4 separate regions of the Homo sapiens genome follow, and regions 1, 2 and 3 are each linked to region 4. Evidence: promoter capture Hi-C in 16 types of primary human blood cells and fetal thymus (Javierre and others, 2016). All regions are on one chromosome and are shown on one strand. The core of a region is centred on a gene start or on the middle of the fragment in contact, and the rest is flanking DNA. Distances in the headings are between cores, read along the strand shown.

Region 1 (5,147 bases), core at 478-2,977, 670 kb before region 4:
TGTTTTAAAATAAAATGCTATGGGAGCTTAAAGAGATCATCCAAATTAATTACTACAACCAAGTTTCCCTTATAGAACTCTAAATCTTAGATATGAATTATTTGGGTATTACACCTGACTGCACCAAGTGTGTTATGTGCGTGCTTATGATAATTAAATCCAGAAGTAATTGCCCAGGATTTTATTCAGCCATAATTGCAAGTAACCAAGGGCAGAACCTTGCAGAATCATAATCTGTGGGAGATGTTTTGACACAGAATGACCAAATAAGATACTTTAACAACATAATAGTGTATCTCATAGAAAATAGAGCTGGTGATCCTTGCATCAGAATCAATGGAGAGGAGGAAAAAAACAAACAAACAGAAAAACCAAAAAAACATTGAAAAAGAAGTTGAAAAGAAAAATGACATCATGTGCAGTGGTCTTTTTGCAGGGAGGGATAGACTGTGATCTTTAAGAGCTAAACCAATTAGTATGAAAGGAACTCACAGGGAGCAAGACTGTCACTTTGTCAATCTTAATAATCTTTATTGATTAAATGTGACTGTCACTGACAGTCAAGACAATGTGTCTTTATACAATGGAGCAGAACAAAGCAGAACTTTGACCAGTCAATTTAAGATTCCTCAGGCCCTTTGGGAGAAAAATAGTGTATTCCATTGTAGATTCTGGTTATTTGGAAAATAGTAAGGATTAGATGCAGAATTAATCTGCATCTGGCAGGCACAGGGAGGAAGGAAACTTTCAAAACAATTAAATATTGCTCTTACTATGACCTTTTACAGCCTACCATCTTGTGGGGCCTCCAGGGAATTAAGGTTGCAAGGAATATTCACAATAAAAACTGAAATTTACAAAAGTATTGGTATGGGCCCTAGAGAAAGCCAAAAAACTAATGCAATAATTTACTTCTATTCACTCAATCTTTGTACTTGCTATGCCTTCTACCTAAAACTTTTTCCCTCCCATGACTCCCTCTCTCATTTCATTCAGGTCTCTGCTCAAATATCAATTCAAGCGAGTCCTCTCAGCCCCTCCTTGTGATTATTCTCTTATAGTAAATACTTACAATTTCATATTGCCTTGGCATCCATTCTGAATATAAGTTAGATTTTATCATACCAGAAGCCGGGCTTAGTCGCCCTTGACAATTTCCAGCTCTCCGCCTCCTCTCAGTTCCAGTGTTATCAATCCAAATATCTGTTCTATATAGCTGCCTCCTGGTGACCACTTCCCTATGGGACATATAGAATAACAACCTACTGCACTCACCCCACTCATCCCACATCCCGTATAGACTGCACGGATCTGCCACAGTGACTATGTCTCAGTCACTATCTCTCTGTGACCCCACAGAATTTGTGCCTGCTTGCTTTAAACTCACCAATTAGAACTCTCTTCAGAAAACCAAGGGCAAGGGTAATACCCTTGACCCCAATAAAGGCCTCTGCCCACAGTGATAGAGGCAGACAAATGCCTAGACAGATAGGGGCGGGTCCCTAGCAAAACACCATCTCCAAGTCGAAGACAGTTTATAGCCTGAAAGCCAAGCTACAGATTAAATCGTCAGACTGAATTGAGAACTTGTCTTCCTGTTTGGCATGCTTTCCTCTGATTGGTCCCCACCTTTCGCCTATTTTACATATACCTACCCTTTCCTATTGGTTTTTCTACACTGTCATGCCCACCTTTGTGTGCTGTCTTCGCTTTAACCTTTTTTGCATACTCAAAACTAATCAGCACACTTTCCCCATTCTGAGTCCATAAAGGGCCCCAGACCCAGCCACATGGGGGAACCATTGCCCTCCCCACCTCCCCTCCCCTCCCCTCCCCTCCCCTGCCCTCCCCTCTCCATTGAAAGCCATTTTCATTGCTCAATAAAATTCTCCGCCCTCCTCACTCTCCAATGTCCCACATATCCTCATTCTTCTTGGGCATGGTAAAAGAGCTCAGGAACTCCAAATGCAAGTACAAGCTATAACGCAGGCGAGCTGGGGCATGCCAGCATGGCCGAGAGAGGCCCAGGTGGGGCATCACCACCTGGGGGTCCCTGGCTTGCAAAGTGACCAACAAGAAAAATCCTGCATCAACGGGTTCTCCTCTAACTGGCTCCATATTTCCTGGTTGAGCACAGTGCCCTCTTTACCTTCCAGTCGACCTTCATCAATACCTCTCTTCTCTTGTGGACCTGTAACTGATGCACTGCCTCTGTCTTTTCATTGTTTTGTTGTGCTGTCTCCTCTGTGTCTTACCTGACCCACACACCCACACCTAACTTCTCTCCCAGTCAGAGCTCTCCTAGAGAGTGGCTATCTTGGAAGAATAAACTAGACACAGGTCAGACAAGAGCCACAAGGGCATCTGCCAGTATAAACAAGTTTTCTGTGAGAGGGACACTCGGTCACAGGTCAGACACTTAGGCATTAGCTGTCAGTCAGGATAAAGAAATATCCTGTGAAAGGCACACTGTAAATAACCATGACCAAATCCCCTGGAACCCCATCAGGGCAAGGCTAGAGTTTATAGCCACTCTCCTAAGAAAGACCTCAAGACCAAATTAGAAAATAAAATAACCTCTATATTCTTTTATCCTGCTTTATTTTATATTTTTTCCATAGGGAATTCCACTATTAGACATTGTATTACATGCTTGTTTATTTGTTTATGTTCTGTCTCCCCCACTATCATGTAAGTTCCTTGAGAGCAAAGAATTTATTTTATTAATCTTTATAACCTCATTGCCTAGAATATGCCTTGCATATAGTAGGTTCTCAATAATCATTGGTGCAAAAAATTAATTTAGAGTTTAATATATTAGTTGATCAGATTCTTTCAGTGTAACATACCGTAATTGAACTCCATTTGTATGAGACACAGAATGGGTAAATTTTCATGGGCTGAAAATAGAGAGAAAGGACCTAACCATGAGGTTAATGTCCACATCAGGATAATCAGGGTGGAATACCACAGTATGGATCTTTGGATATTTGGGGGCCCGTGTGAAGGAACTTAAGATTATGATGGAGAATGATAATAAAGAGATGAGTTATAATGGAGATAATGGTAAGGATATATTTTCAAGAAAGCAGTCTGGAGGCAGAGGATCATGAATAAATACAGGTAAATGAAACAAAGAGAAGAAAACAGCAGGACCAAGCATAGGTAAATAGGGCACTCCAGTTTCATACTTGAGTTGTCACAAGGGTCCTGCCTACTTAGTGTGTAGCATTGTCATAGCTTGAGCAATGCTGTTCTCAATAGGGCACTATTTTAACAGTGTTGTGTAGGTCCCAGGAATATCTGAACCCCCTTGCAGAACAGATTAAAGCTAACCATAATCGATGGAGCTTTCTCTTCAGTTGCAAGGGCCTAACTCACAAGAGTATTGATTGCAGTAGACTAGAAAAAGGGTTTCCCATGGACACCCTGGCTGATATTTTCTTGCACAAATAGTGTTTGGGCCTGAAACATAAGGTAAAGAAAGACAATGCCTGAGGAACAATACCAACCCACAGTAATAATATGCCATGCCACCCATCACTTTTTTACTGGGACTCTGATCTGTGCCTATAGACTTGAGTGCATGCAAACTAGTGCCCAGCTAGGCCTAGTGGTGGGGAGCCTCCTTACTCTGATGTTGCTTTTATTTTATTATTATTATTATTATTTTTTGGAGACAGAGTCTCATTCTGTCGCCACACTGGAGTGTGGTGGGGTGATCTCGGCTCACTGCAACCTCCGCCTCTCAGGTTCAAGCAATTCTCTTGCCTCAGCCTCCTGAGTAGCTGGGATTACAGGCGCACGCCACCACGCCTGGCTAATTTTTGTATTTTTAGTAGAAACAGGGTTTCACTACTTTTGGCCAGACTGATCTCAAACTCCTGACCTCAGGCGATCTGCCCACCTCAGCCTCCCAAAGTGCTGGGATTATAGGTGTGAGCCACCACGCCCAGCCTCATTGAGTTTCAAAGTTTATCTTTCATTTTGGGAAGTGACTCCTTTATTTATTTATTTATTGTCGTAGGTCTTTAAATATTAAATTCCAATCTCAGTCCAATAAAGCTACACTTTAAAAAAAGAAAAATGAATTAAGTACCAAATAGTACAAGATTTTGATGTGTGATGCTATCTTTTAAAATTTTTATCTCGAGATAATTATGAGTTACGGGAAGTTGAAAAAAAAAATGTACAGGGAGCTCCCATGCACCATTCATCCAGTTTTCCTCAATGGTAACATTTTGCTTAAGTATAATATCAAAACAAGGAAAATGGGTAATGCTACTTTAAGACGATTTTGCTCCTCCACCCTAGCTGTTTTAGTATGAGAAGCTGAGACGAATTAGGTTTTTGATGTTGGAATCTCATTGTTATCTTATAACTCTTACCTCAGAGAGTCAACTATAATCCATGATTGCATTTTAGCATGATCTATCTGGCATGGAATGACTTAGGATTTAGCCAGGATTTAGGTTATGCTTGATTGGTGGGCCACTGGCAGTAGGAAACCTCAAACCTCCTAAGTTCAGACCTTGATTCAGTTTTGGAATTTTCAGAGCTCTCTCTTTGGACTGCACCAACACAGTTTTAACTAATTTGTTCCCATGATTTGGGTGGCACTAAACATGTCTTTGCCTCAATTTTCTCATAATTTATCCACCTGGCCTCAGAAATTTTGTAAAATACAAATGAGGCAACCTAACAAAAGTCACTTTTAAATTATTTTATTTTATTTTTATTTTTGAGTTGGAGTCTCACTCTGCCACCCAGGCTGGAGTGCAGTGGCATGATCATAGCTCACTGCAGCCTCGATTTCCCAGGCTCAAGCCATCCTCCCACCTCAGCCTCCCATGTAGCTAGGACTACACATGTGTCCCACCATGCCTGGCCACCTTTTTTGATCTTTAGTAGAGACCATGTCTCACTATCTTGCCCAGGATGGTCTCTAACACCTGAGCTCAAGCAATCCTCCCACCTCAGCCTCTCAAAGTGCTGGGATTACAGGTGTGAGTCACCACGCTAGGCCAGAAAAGACACTTTAAAATGTATAAAAGCATTCTGTGTATGCTAAATTTTCTTGTTATGTATATTTATATTTCTTTGAATACTGAATCAAGCACTTTATAGAGTTCCTACTAAGTGTTTCA
Region 2 (4,618 bases), core at 1,453-3,952, 650 kb before region 4:
CAAGAATATTTTAGGTGCATATTTTTATTTTTCAACATTTTTCCTCATTTATTATAATAAAAATATTGAGTTGAGGAAAAATATGGTTTATTAACTACTGACAAACATCTCAAGCAAATTATATGCTGGAAGTAGAGTAATAAAGTTAGGTTTTCTTTTTCAAAATATCTGGCAGAATTCTAAACTCATAAAAGATCTTAACTGGGCTACCATAAAATGGCCTGCAATGGATTCTAGTGAAATCTAATAAGATACTCAGTTACTAGCTTCATTAAAACACAGTGTGTTCATTATAACCCAATCTGGCAGAAACTCTCATTACTCTGGGTTTGTATTACCTCATGTAATTCTGCTTTTTAAAGTTCTTTTCTTTCCCCTCTCATCCAAACCCCACCACACCCTTGGTGTTACATTATAGCCAATTAACATACTTTAACTGTTTGTAATATATCATGTTTTTATTACTATTCTAAAGGAGTTTGTGTTTTTTCATTTTCTTCATTAGATCATTCAAGTAAGTCTCAAAGACTTGAAATGTTATACTTGATTATATTCAGAGTTTTGAAAAACATGCTGCTCTAAGACTATGAGGTACTACCATTTTGAATCATTATGCCCTCTCTGTGATAAGAATATGATCCAATGCTATGCTATTCTCTGAATTAATCATAAAAATGATGTAAGAGGCTTATATAAAAAAACATATGTAATAGACTGTAAGCTTCTTGAGAGTACAGTTATGAGTATATTTCCATAGCAGCTAACATTTATCAGGTGCTTACAACATGTCAGCTACTGGGCTAAGTTGGATTTTTTATCTCACTTAAGATGACAGCTGAACGATATCTCTATTATGCATTCTTCCTCATTTTACAAATGGAAATAAATGAGACCCTGAGGAGCTAACCACTAGCTCAAGGTCACAAACCCAGTAGGTAATGGAAGGAGAAATCCAATCCAGTTATAACTCCAAAATCACCACTCTCTCCACTTTATTGAACTGCTTTGGGTCTTTGTTTCTAAAGAGCCCAGGACAGTGCTTGGCATTGAGTTGGCATTCAAATATTTGTTGACTTTAATGTTGATGGTGCTAATGAGTCACCGACAAATTGTTGCAATTCAACGTTGTTTTATTTCAATGTTGTTCTTTTCAACAGCCACTTTTAGTTGAATTTAACTATTGTTTTATTTTGTTTATTGTCAAAATGATGTATGAGTAGACATAGCTCAAAGGGGACTGAAAAGTAAACATTTACCATAGCTACAGAGAAGCCAGTCAGGAAGTCAGGGTGTTAAAATGGAATTTGGCAAATAAAGGAAGCTGACAGAATAAGGAAGCAAATAAGAGAAAACAAAACAAACAAAAACTCAAGAAATAAATACAAATGCCTGCACTTCCTCTTCTATTCCCTATTTATTGCATTTGATCCCACCATCATGCCCCATTATACAAGCTAGAAACCTAGGAGGCATCTATGATTTCTCCTTTTTCTGTACCTTCTTTAACCTATTTAATCACTTACCTATTCTAAATACTGTGTATACTTTTATAATCTGTCCCCTCCTTTTCTCTCCTGCAATCACTGCCTGTTTTGTTTCTTACCCAAATTAAAACCTTTCTAACTAATCTCCCAGCCTTCGGTCTCTTCTCCTCCTTAGGTCCTTTGTCCACACGGTTACAAGAATGACATCTAAAATTCAAAACTTATGATGTCACTCACTCACATCTTTTAAACTCTTTAGTGGCTCTTCACCAACTCAGAATAAAGCTAAAGCTATTCTACCTTTCTTTTTAAGCCATTTCTATGTGTTGCAGATGAGTGAAAACAATTTGGATAATACAGCAAATGCCAAGTTGTGTTTTGTTTTGTTTTGTTTTTGTAAATATTGTAGCATCTGGTGGTAAAAGATATGTGAAAACTACATGTTCTCTCTCCCAAATCTTGGCTATTAGATAGTAGTTACAACAAAATAAAGTATCAAGTTAAATTACATACAATGCACAAATGTTCATTAGAAAGGAGGCAAAAAAAAAAAAAAACTATATAATCTATTCGATAGCTCTGGGAGATCCCACTCTCTGACCTAAACCCAAAGACTAGTACTTTACATGAAAAGCACATTTTCAAGAAGGCGCAATGTAGGAGTCACTGGTAGGACTAGGGTGCTCTACAGTCAGACTGGGCAGCAGAAGACTGAGAAATTTAGGTACATAAGACCAACGTGGCTCTAGACTCCTAGCTTTTGCTGAACTCTAAAACCTCCTTCATGCAGGAGCAAGTGGGTCTTATACATCATTTCTAACAATTGCCTACCTTAAACACCATTCATTTCAATAACAAAAATTTATTTCTTATGTTCCTGAAGACAAGTAGACCCTGTGGTGTAGCTTTTGTTAAAGATGACCAATGTTTTCTTTTTCTTTTCTGTTTTTTTTTTTTTGAGACGGAGTCTCGCTCTGTCGCCCAGGCTGGAGCGCAGTGGCGCGATCTCAGCTCACTGCAAGCTCCGCCTCCCGGGTTCACGCCATTCTCCTGCCTCAGCCTCCCCAGTAGCTGGGACTACAGGCACCCGCCACCACGCCCGGACAATTTTTTTGTATTTTTAGTAGAGATGGGGTTTCACCATGTTAGCCAGGATGGTCTTGATCTCCTGACCTTCGTGATCCACCCACCTCGGCCTCCCAAAGTGCTGGGATTACAGGCGTGAGCCACTGTGCCCGGCCGTTTTTTTGTTTTTTTTTAAGAGACAAGGTCTTACTCTCTCAACCCAGGCTAGAATGCAGTGGCGAGATCATAGCTCACTATAACCTCAAACTCCTGGGCACAAGCGATCTTCCCACCTTTGCTGAAAGTGGCATTTTCAACCTATTCAACCTTACATTTAAATATAAGAAGACATCCTTCTTGCCATGGTGTCAATCAGTGACCCAGACTTTCTAGCTCTACTTTGTGTAAACTCATTTAGATGGCATCCAAAGAACTGAGTTTTATAGTACTTACTTGGTATGCCATAGCTACTACAATCCTTATTTTGCTTATTTCATAGCTTAAGGTACTGAAAGCAATTATTCGACAGTATTATTATTATTAATTGATATTGATATTCTCCAGAATATTGTTTTTAATTGCAGAAATGAAAAACACTGCAAATATCCAATAATGGAAGTGTTAAGATAGATGCATAAGGTAGAATATTATACACCCATTAAATAACATGCTTTTATTTATTTTTAAGTTATTTTTATGTACTTATTTATTTTTTAGATACAGTATCTCACTTTGTCACCCAGGCTGGAGTGCAGTCATGTGGTCGTAGATCACTGTAGCCTTGAACTCCTGGGCTCAAGCGAACCTCCTGCCTCAGCCTCCTGAGCAGCTGAGACACAGGCACACACCACCATTCCCAGCTAATTTGTTTTAATTTTTTGACAGAGACAGAGTCTCACTATGTTGCCTAGGCTGGTCTCGAACTCCTAGCCTCAAGCCATTCTCTTGCCTTAGCTTTCCAAAAGCACCGGAATTACAGGCATGAGCCACCTTGCCCAGCCACATGATCAATGTTAAGTAATCAATCTTTAAGGTGATAATTCCTGATTATGGTATTCCATGTTATTCGACCATCACTGGAATGATGATTGCAATCAAAAGACTTCTAACACTATTTAATTGCCCGTATAACATACAACATACCCACTTTCATAATTTTCAGCTATAAAAACATCCAACTACTTACAGTTTCTTCATTGACTCATCCACAAATGTTTAATTGGTACTTCTTATATGTCAGTCACCATTCTACATGCTGCAAATGCAGCAATAAATGTGGCAGACAAAGCCTGTGTTCTCATGGTGTTTACATTCCTAAGGGGACACAGAATATATATATATATATATATAGTGAGGATAAGCTGTATACACCAATAGTCAGATTTCTTTTGATTGCAAGTAATAGAATCCCAAGCAAATTAATTTAGCACACACAAAAAAAAGATTTTTAATAGAAGGATAAAGAAAACCAAAAGGTAAGCTGCAAGAACAAGAAGAGTTTAGAAGATTCAGAAACTGGAACTAAAGATGTAGTTGCCCTAAGGACTCATTCTCTCTCCATCTTCCCCATCTCTTTTTTCAGTTGTTCTTTACACGCTGACTTCATTCCTTCCTGTAGTAAATGGTCTCTTTCCAGTTGGAAGGTAAAATGGCCACAGTGGTTCTCAACCAAAGGCAATTTTGACTCTCGGAAAACATTTGAACGTGTCTGGAGACATTTTCAGTTGTCATAACTGGGAAGATGCTACTGGCATCTAATGGATAGAGACAGAATGCTGCTAAATATCCTACGATGTTTGGGACAACCGCCTGCAACAAAGAATTATCTTGACCTGAATTTTAAGAGTTCCAATGTTGTGAATCCTTGCTCTAGGGGTGATTCAAATCTTACGTCATTCCAGCGTAAGAATCCCATAATAATCACTAGTGTATAACAAATATGACAGTAGCATATATAACACAACAATAATACCAACAATATTTAATAAGTATTTACTATGTGACAGGAAATATTATAAGTCCTTCCATGTATTAACACATTCGTCCTCACAACAGTACTATGATGTAGG
Region 3 (5,278 bases), core at 297-2,796, 610 kb before region 4:
GAAGGAGAGGTTTTTGTAAAGCTACTTTTATTAGGACCTTTGACAGCTTTGACTTTTTGTTCATAGCTGCAGAACATTATGTCTTCTACAATATAGTAATACATTCTTCTAATAAATCATCTTTGCACAGTGTGAAGGGAACATTTCAATAGTTGAATATTTGGGGATATAAACAAAACTGTCTGTTATATCAAAAGTATAGCCTCATTTAATTTTTATTTTTCAGAAAGGTTTTGCTGCCTCCATAGATAGCATGTCTTTGGGAAATATAATTCCATGAGAATTTTGGTAGTGATAGTTCTCATTTCGCTCCCTCCCCGCAGTACGCATACACATTTATTCTTCCTCTCTGGATATTAGCCAGCAAGGCTAATTTTATTGCAAGGCCCTGTGGCATACTAGATACTTCTATTTCAAATGATATAGACAGTTACAGAATGTTTATCATAGTCTACTGAAGTTTGAATGATACATATTACAAATACAGTTGTTACACAGTCAGCATTCTTCAGACCAGATGGGTCTGACATGGAGGATCACAGAAAGTTAGAAAGATCGCCATTCTCAGATTTATTTCAGTTTGTGTCTTTTCCAAGGAAATTTCAATTTAGTATCTTTGAATGTAACCCAAGAGTAACTCTCAGGTTTGGTCTCTGAGTGAGGTGTTCCAATCTCACATTTTATAATACTAATTTCCTAAATAATTAGCAGTGGGAATGGTCATTATATTTTTCAAGTGATGCCTGCAGATTTAAAAATTAGGGTTTTAAAAATCTGTCTATTCCAGAGTCTGAATACCTTGGCATTTGGAGCAACATGAAAGAAACACTATCTTGCCTATAGCAAACAGATTTTTCAGCTTAGGTTCTGCATCTCTTGCCCTTTCAGTAGTTTATTGAGCTGTTCCAAGTTTACCACTGGTTAAATGGAGTACAAGAAAATAGCATTCATTAAAGCTTGCTTAATCCAAGGAAACTTGGCCTGAGAATGATCTTTGATAGGGCCATTGTTGTACTTCAAATTACATTTAAATTACTCTAAGACAGATATTCAAATGTAAAATGTAAAAAGCACAAGTGTCACAGAAACACTTCTTGGGATCTTTGGGGAGTTACTTATACCAATAATGCCTCTCTCAGCTGCATGAAAGGTACAATGATATAAAAATCTCAAGCTCTTGGTTACTTATGAAGGGCTTTACTATGTGGCCAGGAGTTGACAGACTAAATGTACACTGTTTGAAACTGTGTATATTTCTCTATAATTTTTAGTAGTTACCCATGAAAACAATGCCATTTAAATACCATTACTCTTGGCTATTGCTGCAACAGTAATTTTCAAAGAAGAGTATTATCCTGCACATATGGGTGATATTTTTCATTGTCCAATGACTGGGATACCATATTAGCAACTAGTGACTATTAGTCAGAGACACCAAAAAGTCCCACATAACAAAGACTTGTCACACTCAAAATTTTAATATGGTCCCCTTTAAGAAACAGTGAGAAATGGAATTGCACTTTAGTCATAATAGGCAATATCTTATGATGATGATGCACTTTTTTCATAGTTGCATTCCTCAAGATGACATCCATTGCAACAGGTCAGAATTCTTTATGAGTGCTGCATTATGGCCCACTTCACGCTTAAGAACAAACATGAGGATTTCAGAGCTGAATCAACGTTAGACTCTTAAAAAACAATTGTATCATGTAAGTATCTACTTTGTAGCTCCACCTTAAAAGCTATGGATGGCCTTTGTATAAATTTACTACTACTTGCCTATGGAAAGGACTCTATTACTGAATTAGAAGTTAGGTCTATGATGGAACAAGTGTGACCATTTAGCATTTAAGTCTAGTTGCATTTCTGCATTGATGCAGGCAGACCTTTCTTTGTCCGGATCTAGGATAGATTAACTGAGATCCTGACACTTTTAAAGGTCTGAAAAAAACATGTAAAACGTATTCTCCCTGAGGGCTGCTAACAGTGAGGTTTCATCTACATAACAAGACCACCTTTGCTAGCCAGACCTCTTCTTCTCCCCTTCCCATAACCTGTCTTGCCACCATCACCTGATTTACCAACATAACTGTTCTGAGCCCCTATTTTTTTCTCTAACCTCAAGATGGTGTTTAAGCTTCTGTATCCCATTGCAGAGTTGGTGTAATTACTTTGTGATTCTTCCATGTACATGTTAATAAATTTGTATGCCTTCCTTCCTATTAATATGCCTTTCTAAAAATTTTATTTATAAAGACACGGTCTCACTATGTTCCCCAGGCTCAATTACAGTGGCTATTCATGGGTACCATCTCACCACTGATTAGCAAGGGAGTTTTCATCTGCTCCACTTACAACCTGGGCCAGTTCATCCCTCCCTAGGTGACTTGATGGTCCCCTACTCCCTGGCAATTACGATATTGATGGCAAACAGTGTGGACACTCTATCAGCATAGTGCACTACAGCCTGTTACTGGACACAAGTGATTCTCCTGCCTTGGTCTCTGGAGTAGCTGGGACTATAAGCATGCCCACTGTACCTGGCTAATCTGCCTTTTGTCAGTTGATATTTCAGTGAATCTTCAGAGAGTGAAGGGAATGTTTTCCTTCCCCCGTATAGGGGTTAGGAGATCAGTATATGAATTTGGGATTATGAAAGGAAAATAAAATCTTGGGACCCCAAACACACTAAGCCAAAGGGAAAAGTCAAGCTTGGGAATTGAGTCATAGAAAATTGTCTCCCATTTTTATTCCTACAAAAATTAAAGGCCACATACTTCCCCAGGAAGCCTCCCTCACAATTTGCTCACAAGGAACTTCCTCATAGGTCGCAAGATATTTACCCTAAAACAGTTCTGTTGAATTTCATGCTGACAAGGTAATTAACAGCTTATCTTCACAGGTACGGGACAAAGACAAGACCATCACGGATAAAGACAGGAGCAGATTTAGTATATGTGCTGCCACCATAACGGATAAAGACAAGAACAGATTTTAGTATATGTGCTGCCATTTGAGACCAGCCTGGCCAACATTGTGAAACCCCGTCTCTACTGAAAACACAAAAATTAGCTAGGCGTGGCGGTACGCCCCTGTGATCCCAGCTACTTGAGAGGCTGAGGCAGGAGAATCGCTTGAACCTGGGAGGCGAAGGTTGCAGTGAGCTGAGATCGCACCACTGCACTCCAGCCTGGGTGACAGAGCAAGACTCCATCTCAAAATAAATAAATAAATAAATAAATAAATAAATAAATAAATAAATAAATAAAATAAAATAAAATAAAATAAAATAAAATAAAATAAAATAAAAACAAATAAATAAAGGCAAGACCAGAAGCCATACTCCACCCAACTGAGACAAATGCGTATTAATGCAGATTCACTGAGCACAGGCCAGTGCATAATTGACTGTTCTTCTATCCCCTCCTTTTACATATAAAATGTAGATTCAGTGAACACTGATGAAAGCCTCAGAAGAATGGAACCACCTGCAGCTTTATCTACCCTACCCCAACATTTTGTTTCTTTCTTGGTTCTCCTACTGCCCACCCTTTCCCCTTGAAATACTGGAGTCCCCAAGCCCCCTTTGAAATAAAAAGCACAAATCACAGATGTCCCTGTGGGTTTTGTGTTTCTTTTCCCTGAGCCCATCCTCAACCTTGGCAAAATAAACCTTGAAATTGATTGAAACCTGTTGCAGATACTTTTGGGTTTACAAATTGGCCACTACAGGAGGAATTCTGAATGGAGGTGGCCCTTAACCTGTGGCAAATCTCCTATCCGTGGCTGGTACTGGTTGGGCTATTTTTATCACTCAAACCAATAAGGAAATTTGCTGAGGTCTGGAAGCTACCCAGCTCCGGAGAACACCTGATCTCCCAAATTTTGGGTGAGATTTAAGGCTTATTTTGCTGTACAGCTCATTTATGGAGTTCTGCTTTCTTCCCACAAGAGAGGCAAGTTTTTCCTGCTTTCATGATGATGGGGAGCAGCTAACTACTTCCTGGAGTTCTGCTCACTTCCAATAAGGAAAGTGCTTTCTTCCTGCTTCTAAAATGGTAGAGAGCAATCTGCAGCCTGGGCCCCACTCCTAGGTAAATAGCTGAGTTGAGATTTTATCTTAAAAATTCTCTTTAATGATTAAAATATAAGGTTGACAACCAGCTGGTCTTAACTTCTTACAATTAGAGTGCTCATTCATTGTATAAATCTTGCAATTGCTTACTTGATTTTTTTTTTTTTTTTGGTTGTTTTTGCTGTTGTTTTGGTCTCTTCTCCCATTGGATTTGACCAACTCTAAACTCCTCTAGTGTATGAGTGTGGAATTTCCACTCCAAAGAGAAAAAGCCCTTGCTCCCCTCAGCCTTTCAGGGCATTCCCAGGTTACTGAGAATCACATGCAGGTATCTGGGAGGAATGCTCCCAGTGATGCACAGCAGCTCTGACTAGGTTGCCCCTCTGAAAAGCGTACTTATGGTCTAATCTCAGCTGGCAGGTACATATAAGGTACCAACCCCCTCCACACTTTGAACCTCTGATGTGCTGTGTCAGGGGGCCATAATACAGCGGGACCAAACCGGCTCATGGGATAATGGCCCTGAGAATGTATGTCCACAAGACACACCTCTTGACTTGGTTAAATCTGAAGGAGAGTTCCAAATTAAGGGGATCAAGGCCTTTGAATTGGCTATCCCCCAAACCCTCAGGTCTTAAAGCTTGAAACTTACATTTCTTTTATCTAAGTTCCTTCCTCAGGAAAGGACCCTCAGACCTCTCAAAAAGTATCAAAGAACTGAAACTTACCAGATCACCGCATCTAGACAATGAGATGACAGACCCCTCATCTGTCATGATTGCTTCCTTACTCCTCATTAATTCCTGTTTTCCTAACCAAGAAACCAAGAAGACTTGCTTCTTGTTGACCAACTCCTCTCACTTTACCCCTCCCTATTTCCTATTTTCACACATATAGTTACATTTCTTCCTTGCTATATAAACCCTTAATTTTAGTCAGGGAGATTGATTTAAGACTGATCTCCCATCTCCTCAGCTACAGCACCTGATTAAAGCCTTCTTCCTTGGAAACATTCGTTGCCTTAGTGAATGGCTTTCTGTGCAGCGAGCAGCAGGATCTAGACCGAACCTCTGGTGTTTCAGTAACAGATTTTCGTTCCCTGATCAAAATCGCATTGCTCGTGGCTCAGCTGTCACAGGCCCAGAGAGTTCCTAAGCAGCTGCCTACCCATTTTTGGCCAGAGGTGGGGTTTGGTCTCTA
Region 4 (4,939 bases), core at 314-2,813:
CGACAGTATGTTCACTGCCAAATTAAATTTCAAAGCCTGAATTCAGTGGCGATGGAGGGAATCAGAGGATTCCCAAAATGCCCCTTTTGGAATAGACTGGACAGCTCCTTTCACAAATATGGAAACAGAGGCACAGAGAGAAATGACTGTTCCTAGGGCATCCAGAATAAGGAAGGGGCCTGACCCTTATCATTGCTTCCACTTCCTTCTCCATCTCTAACTTTTGGGGCTACTGAGGCAAACTTCGGCCTTCAGAATAGCCGGCAGCTCCCACCCCTTTTGCGTTCTGCCGGGTTAGGTCCTCCAAGCCTCTCTCTGTACGGCCTCTCTGTAGCCTCTTCTATACACTCGCTGCGCTGCCGTCCGGTCCTAAGTAGCCAAACCGGAGGCTCGATCTTTTGCTTCGGTCCAGCTACCTCCGACAGGCGGGGAGCCAATCTCCACTTTTCCCACCCCGGTCCTCGGTACAGGGCCGAGAAACCTCGGCCGCGACCCGAGACCACCACCCCCGCTCGCCCCTTCGTTCCCTCTTAGGAGAGATCTGCTTCTGTCCCCATTCTCCGTGGGATCATCTCCATTACTCAGCTTGGTTTTGGTGCCTCTGAGCCAAGGGGGCCCCGTTCACCCTTCTCTGCGCTGCCGCCAGGACACCGCAGGCACCTGCCCGGTTGCGCCTGGGAGCCTGTGAAAAAGAGCTCTGCCTGACCGGTTAGAGCTCTGCCTGACCGGTTGCAGCTCGGCATCCCAGCAGTTGCCAAAAGAGAGCCTTTGTGGTTCACCTCTTGCTGCCTTGACCTTGCATTGACAGCACCCCTCCCTCCCCCACAACGACTGGGCAACCGACTGGCTGTGGGCCCAAGGCCCTGTGCCAGAGAGATATGTTCACCCCCTTGGAAACCCGTAAGAGCTGCCCTCAAGGTGTCTTTCTAATGAGGCCTGTGGGGTCAAGAAAGGAACTAAACTGTGCCTTCCCGGGGCTCGAAGGCCAAGAGCTTTTCTTTCTCCTTTGGGGTTAGGGAAAGGATGGGGAGACAAGGATGGGGAAGTGGGCCTTATAACAGGATTGTGGCCTTTGCGCACTCACCAAATGTTTGACCCTGTGAGTGCCTCAGTTGCTACTGTTGGAGGAATGGGCAAGAGTCGGAACAGAGACCCTTGAAGGGAGTTTCAAAGCTTGATGAAATTTGCAAGACTTGAGAATGCTGTTTGTTGAAATGAAATGTACAGGGGTGTGTGTGTGTGTGTGTGTGTGTGTTTGGGGAGGGGTATGCTATGAATCTTTGAGGGTACATTCTTGAGAAAGCCTTCCCTCTCTCTCTATCCGGTGCCATGGCTGATCCTGGTTCCCCCTACTCTCTAGGCCTTGTGAATCAGATTAATCATCACCCCCACCCCCATCTCCACCATGGGGTCTCGCGCCCCCTGCCAGCAGGCTCCAGATGCACTAAGAGACCGGTCCAAACAGGCCCGGGGGCCACGTAATGCTGAGTGCTGATTGGCTGCTCTTGGCTCCTCCCCTCATCCCGCTTTTGGCCCAAGAGCGTGGTGCAGATTCACCCGCGCGAGGTAGGCGCTCTGGTGCTTGCCGAGGACGCTTCCTTCCTCAGATGCACCGATCTTCCCGATACTGCCTTTGGAGCGGCTAGATTGCTAGCCTTGGCTGCTCCATTGGCCTGCCTTGCCCCTTACCTGCCGATTGCATATGAACTCTTCTTCTGTCTGTACATCGTTGTCGTCGGAGTCGTCGCGATCGTCGTGGCGCTCGTGTGATGGCCTTCGTCCGTTTAGAGTAGTGTAGTTAGTTAGGGGCCAACGAAGAAGAAAGAAGACGCGATTAGTGCAGAGATGCTGGAGGTGGTCAGTTACTAAGCTAGAGTAAGATAGCGGAGCGAAAAGAGCCAAACCTAGCCGGGGGGCGCACGGTCACCCAAAGGAGGTCGACTCGCCGGCGCTTCCTATCGCGCCGAGCTCCCTCCATTCCTCTCCCTCCGCCGAGGCGCGAGGTTGCGGCGCGCAGCGCAGCGCAGCTCAGCGCACCGACTGCCGCGGGCTCCGCTGGGCGATTGCAGCCGAGTCCGTTTCTCGTCTAGCTGCCGCCGCGGCGACCGCTGCCTGGTCTTCCTCCCGGACGCTAGTGGTAAGTTGGAGCCCCGGGCGGCATTGCTAGCCGAGACCCCAACGATTTAGGCGGGGGATGGGGTGGGGAGCGGGGACAGGTCCCGGATGGCTGCAGCCTGCAGGACCGCACTGGCCCTAGCGGAGGTTGGGGGGAGGGACTCTGAACGCGCAAATCGCGAGGAGACTGAGTCTCTGGAAGAAGAGAGGAGCTTAGGTTCCACGGAAGGAGCATAGAAGTCTCTAAGGGGATTGGGAGCGGGGGCTCGAGATGAAGACGCTGGGCGGAGGCGGGGGTCTAGAGAACCTGGCGCGGGGGAAGCCGAGACAGAAACGGAAGGCGGGGGTGGGGTCTCAAGAAGTGAGGAGTGGGAGGAGAGAAAGGAGGGAAACTGAACGCAATGTCGCTGAGTAGAGGGTCGGGCTGCGGAAGATGCAACTGAGTTGCAGGACCGACTACAATTTTAAGAAATCCGACAGCAGGCAAGTGGGAGGGGGCGCAAGGTTTGGGACAGTGTGTGCAGAGGGGGAACCAAGGATCCTTTATTATGTTCTCATTGAAAAGCGACCCTAATTTTTCTGGCGGGTCTCAGCGAACATCCGTAACTCTGGGGAGATAACACACTGCGGATCTGTGTTTGGTCTAACAGCTGTTAGCTGAATTTGAACAGCGCTGCTGGTGATCACGTAAGCTTAAGAGGAGAGGATAAAGGCATCCAGTGAACCTTTTTTTAAATAATTAATTAGCTTATCTAAGTCATTTGGTTACTGTTCTATATTTTGAAAAGGATTGCGAAAAAGTCTCCAGCGCTGCCTCTTATTCCTGTACTCAGTTTTACCTGACAAGCAGTCTTTACAGCGTTCCTCGGAATTGCTAAACATGAGAACAGGTTGCCGTTCCTGATGTCACATAAAGTTCGTCATTGCAAAACGTGTCTGTGTGTCTGTTTCTTTTCTGCGCCATGCCCTTTGCCTTTTGCTTCCTGTTGGGTAGTATGCGACTTGAGGTGACAAACACTTGCATTGTGTTTGAGAACCCTGTATTTTAAGCAACAGAGCTCCCCAACTCATAATTCAGCGAGTGACATTCGGCAGTTAAAAGATTTGGTCTGGAATCACTGCCAGTACCGCGCAGCTTCTTCATTAATATTACCAGTATAAGTCCCATCCAAGGAAGCCTCTGATTGCTGAGCCACTAAGTGCATATGCCCCTTACCTCATACCTTTTAGGCAGGCTAACCGAGGGACGCTCATATATGGTTGAGCTAAGATGATTTGGGGGGCGGGGGGTGAGGAAATGCGGCGCACTGAGTAACCTCTGAGCTCCCCAGTTTGCAGACAATTGCGACCTCACATACACGGTAATGAAAAAAGATATCTGGGCTCCAGAGTTTAAATTTTTCATGAAGAAGTTTACGTACATATCAGCCATTCTGACAATCAAAATATGAGTGCAATAGAAACAAGGTGTTACTGTGTAGTTGGCTACATATGTGTAGAGACAATGACAAAGGCCAACTGACATGCCCCACAGAAAATGATATCTACCGTGATCATTGCATCTCTTTTGCAGTACTGAAATCATACTGAATATTGTCTGTTCTGAAGAGTATAATCTCCTTAGCACCTGGCTGTTTGGGAATCATCTACAATGCCCCCCCATTCCACCCCACAGGTGGGGGGAAATAAATAATTTTGTCCATATTTTGGGGAGGTAGGTTATAGAATATTTAATTATATTTTTCATTCCTTAAATAAATTCTCCTGATCCTCCTGGGGAGGGAAGAAAATATTTGTTTCATCAACATGATTTCTTTCCTAATAGCGTCTATCATCTACAGCAACAAGCCCAACGCAAGTCCTGAAATTCGGAAGGTGGATAAGGCTTGTTGATTGCAATGTCAAGGTAGGATTTGGGGTGCTTTAGCAAAAATGACGGTGTTTTTCTATCTGCATTATCTAGAGAGGGTTATTAACCCTTTCTATGCTTTCTTGAGGGGTTTATCTCCATCTAGAGGTGTCATGGATGACAGTGATGACTTTTTCAGATAATGTAACAGGCTTTTGTGCAGTATGAATTCATCAGAAAAGAGGTGAGAACTGATATTTCTGGGAACCTCCTGGATGCCAGACGTGGATCCAGGACTATTACATATATATACATAAAATATATATTATTTCATATAGTCTTCATAGCAAGTCTATGAATGACGGAGATATTATTATCCTCCATTTTATCGGTGCCATTAGATTTTTCCCCTCAATTTTTCAAGGTATTCTCAAAAGTTAATTTAAGGCAAGAGAATAAGAAATATTTATTTGTGCTTCCAAGTCTACTTGGGAAGAGCAATAAAAGTAAAATCTAAAAAGCCTAACATTCTAATAGATTCATCCAACATTATAATTGAGTCAAGCCTCAATAATTTTACTGTTCCATGTATTTCCTTCAAGGAAACGTCATCCCTCTCCAGCTAAGGGAAACACAAAAATTAAAACAAAATTTGGGGGAGAGATTATAGTAACCAACATTAAATATCCTCAGCTATTCTTATTAAATTGTTCAAGGCCTGAGATTGAAGGAGGTTGCAGTTTGCTGAGCCTGCTGAAAGATAAATTAATTCCCAGGTTTTAATGGCTCCTGAAGCTCCAGACTATTTGTCCAGTATTATTAAGGAGCATCTTACCACCTCACTTTCATAGCAATGGAATACCTCACAAAAGGATGATGTACGTGTACTGAGATTATTTTAGTAAAGCATCTGATACAGCTTAGTATTGTCTAGTGGAAGAACTGCTAAATTATGTTCCTCTAGCTGCCTGGTAG

The links. Contacts are between HindIII fragments. The CHiCAGO score rates a contact against its expected background, and 5 or more counts as called.
Region 1: a contact is called between a fragment that was not itself captured here and the fragment with the promoter of HTR2C in region 4, in 1 of 17 cell types (M0 macrophages). The highest score is 6.0, in M0 macrophages.
Region 2: a fragment that was not itself captured here is called in contact with the fragment with the promoter of HTR2C in region 4 in 3 of 17 cell types (megakaryocytes, monocytes and M0 macrophages); the score reaches 7.7 in megakaryocytes.
Region 3: a fragment that was not itself captured here is called in contact with the fragment with the promoter of HTR2C in region 4 in 4 of 17 cell types (monocytes, M0 macrophages, M1 macrophages and 1 more); the score reaches 9.0 in monocytes.

The regions. Positions count from the first base shown.
Region 1 is chrX:113,913,581-113,918,727 of GRCh38, forward strand. No RefSeq gene overlaps it. Among named protein-coding and RNA genes, the nearest start is that of XACT, 300 kb to the left of the region's middle. The HindIII fragment of the contact is 7,940 bases long and covers 1-5,147 here.
Region 2 is chrX:113,934,458-113,939,075 of GRCh38, forward strand. It overlaps LOC124905236 (a long non-coding RNA gene), which reads right to left. Exons shown (of 2, transcript XR_007068366.1): 2 at 1-3,863. Among named protein-coding and RNA genes, the nearest start is that of XACT, 320 kb to the left of the region's middle. The HindIII fragment of the contact is 3,967 bases long and covers 720-4,618 here.
Region 3 is chrX:113,974,086-113,979,363 of GRCh38, forward strand. It overlaps LOC102724491 (a long non-coding RNA gene), which reads left to right. Exons shown (of 3, transcript XR_430542.4): 2 at 1,571-1,712; 3 at 2,893-3,040. It also overlaps the pseudogene RN7SL93P. Among named protein-coding and RNA genes, the nearest start is that of XACT, 360 kb to the left of the region's middle. The HindIII fragment of the contact is 1,184 bases long and covers 955-2,138 here.
Region 4 is chrX:114,582,523-114,587,461 of GRCh38, forward strand. HTR2C (5-hydroxytryptamine receptor 2C) reads left to right here and starts at 1,564. Exons shown (of 6, transcript NM_000868.4): 1 at 1,564-2,137. RefSeq lists an enhancer at 1,064-1,563. The HindIII fragment of the contact is 1,634 bases long and covers 1,172-2,805 here.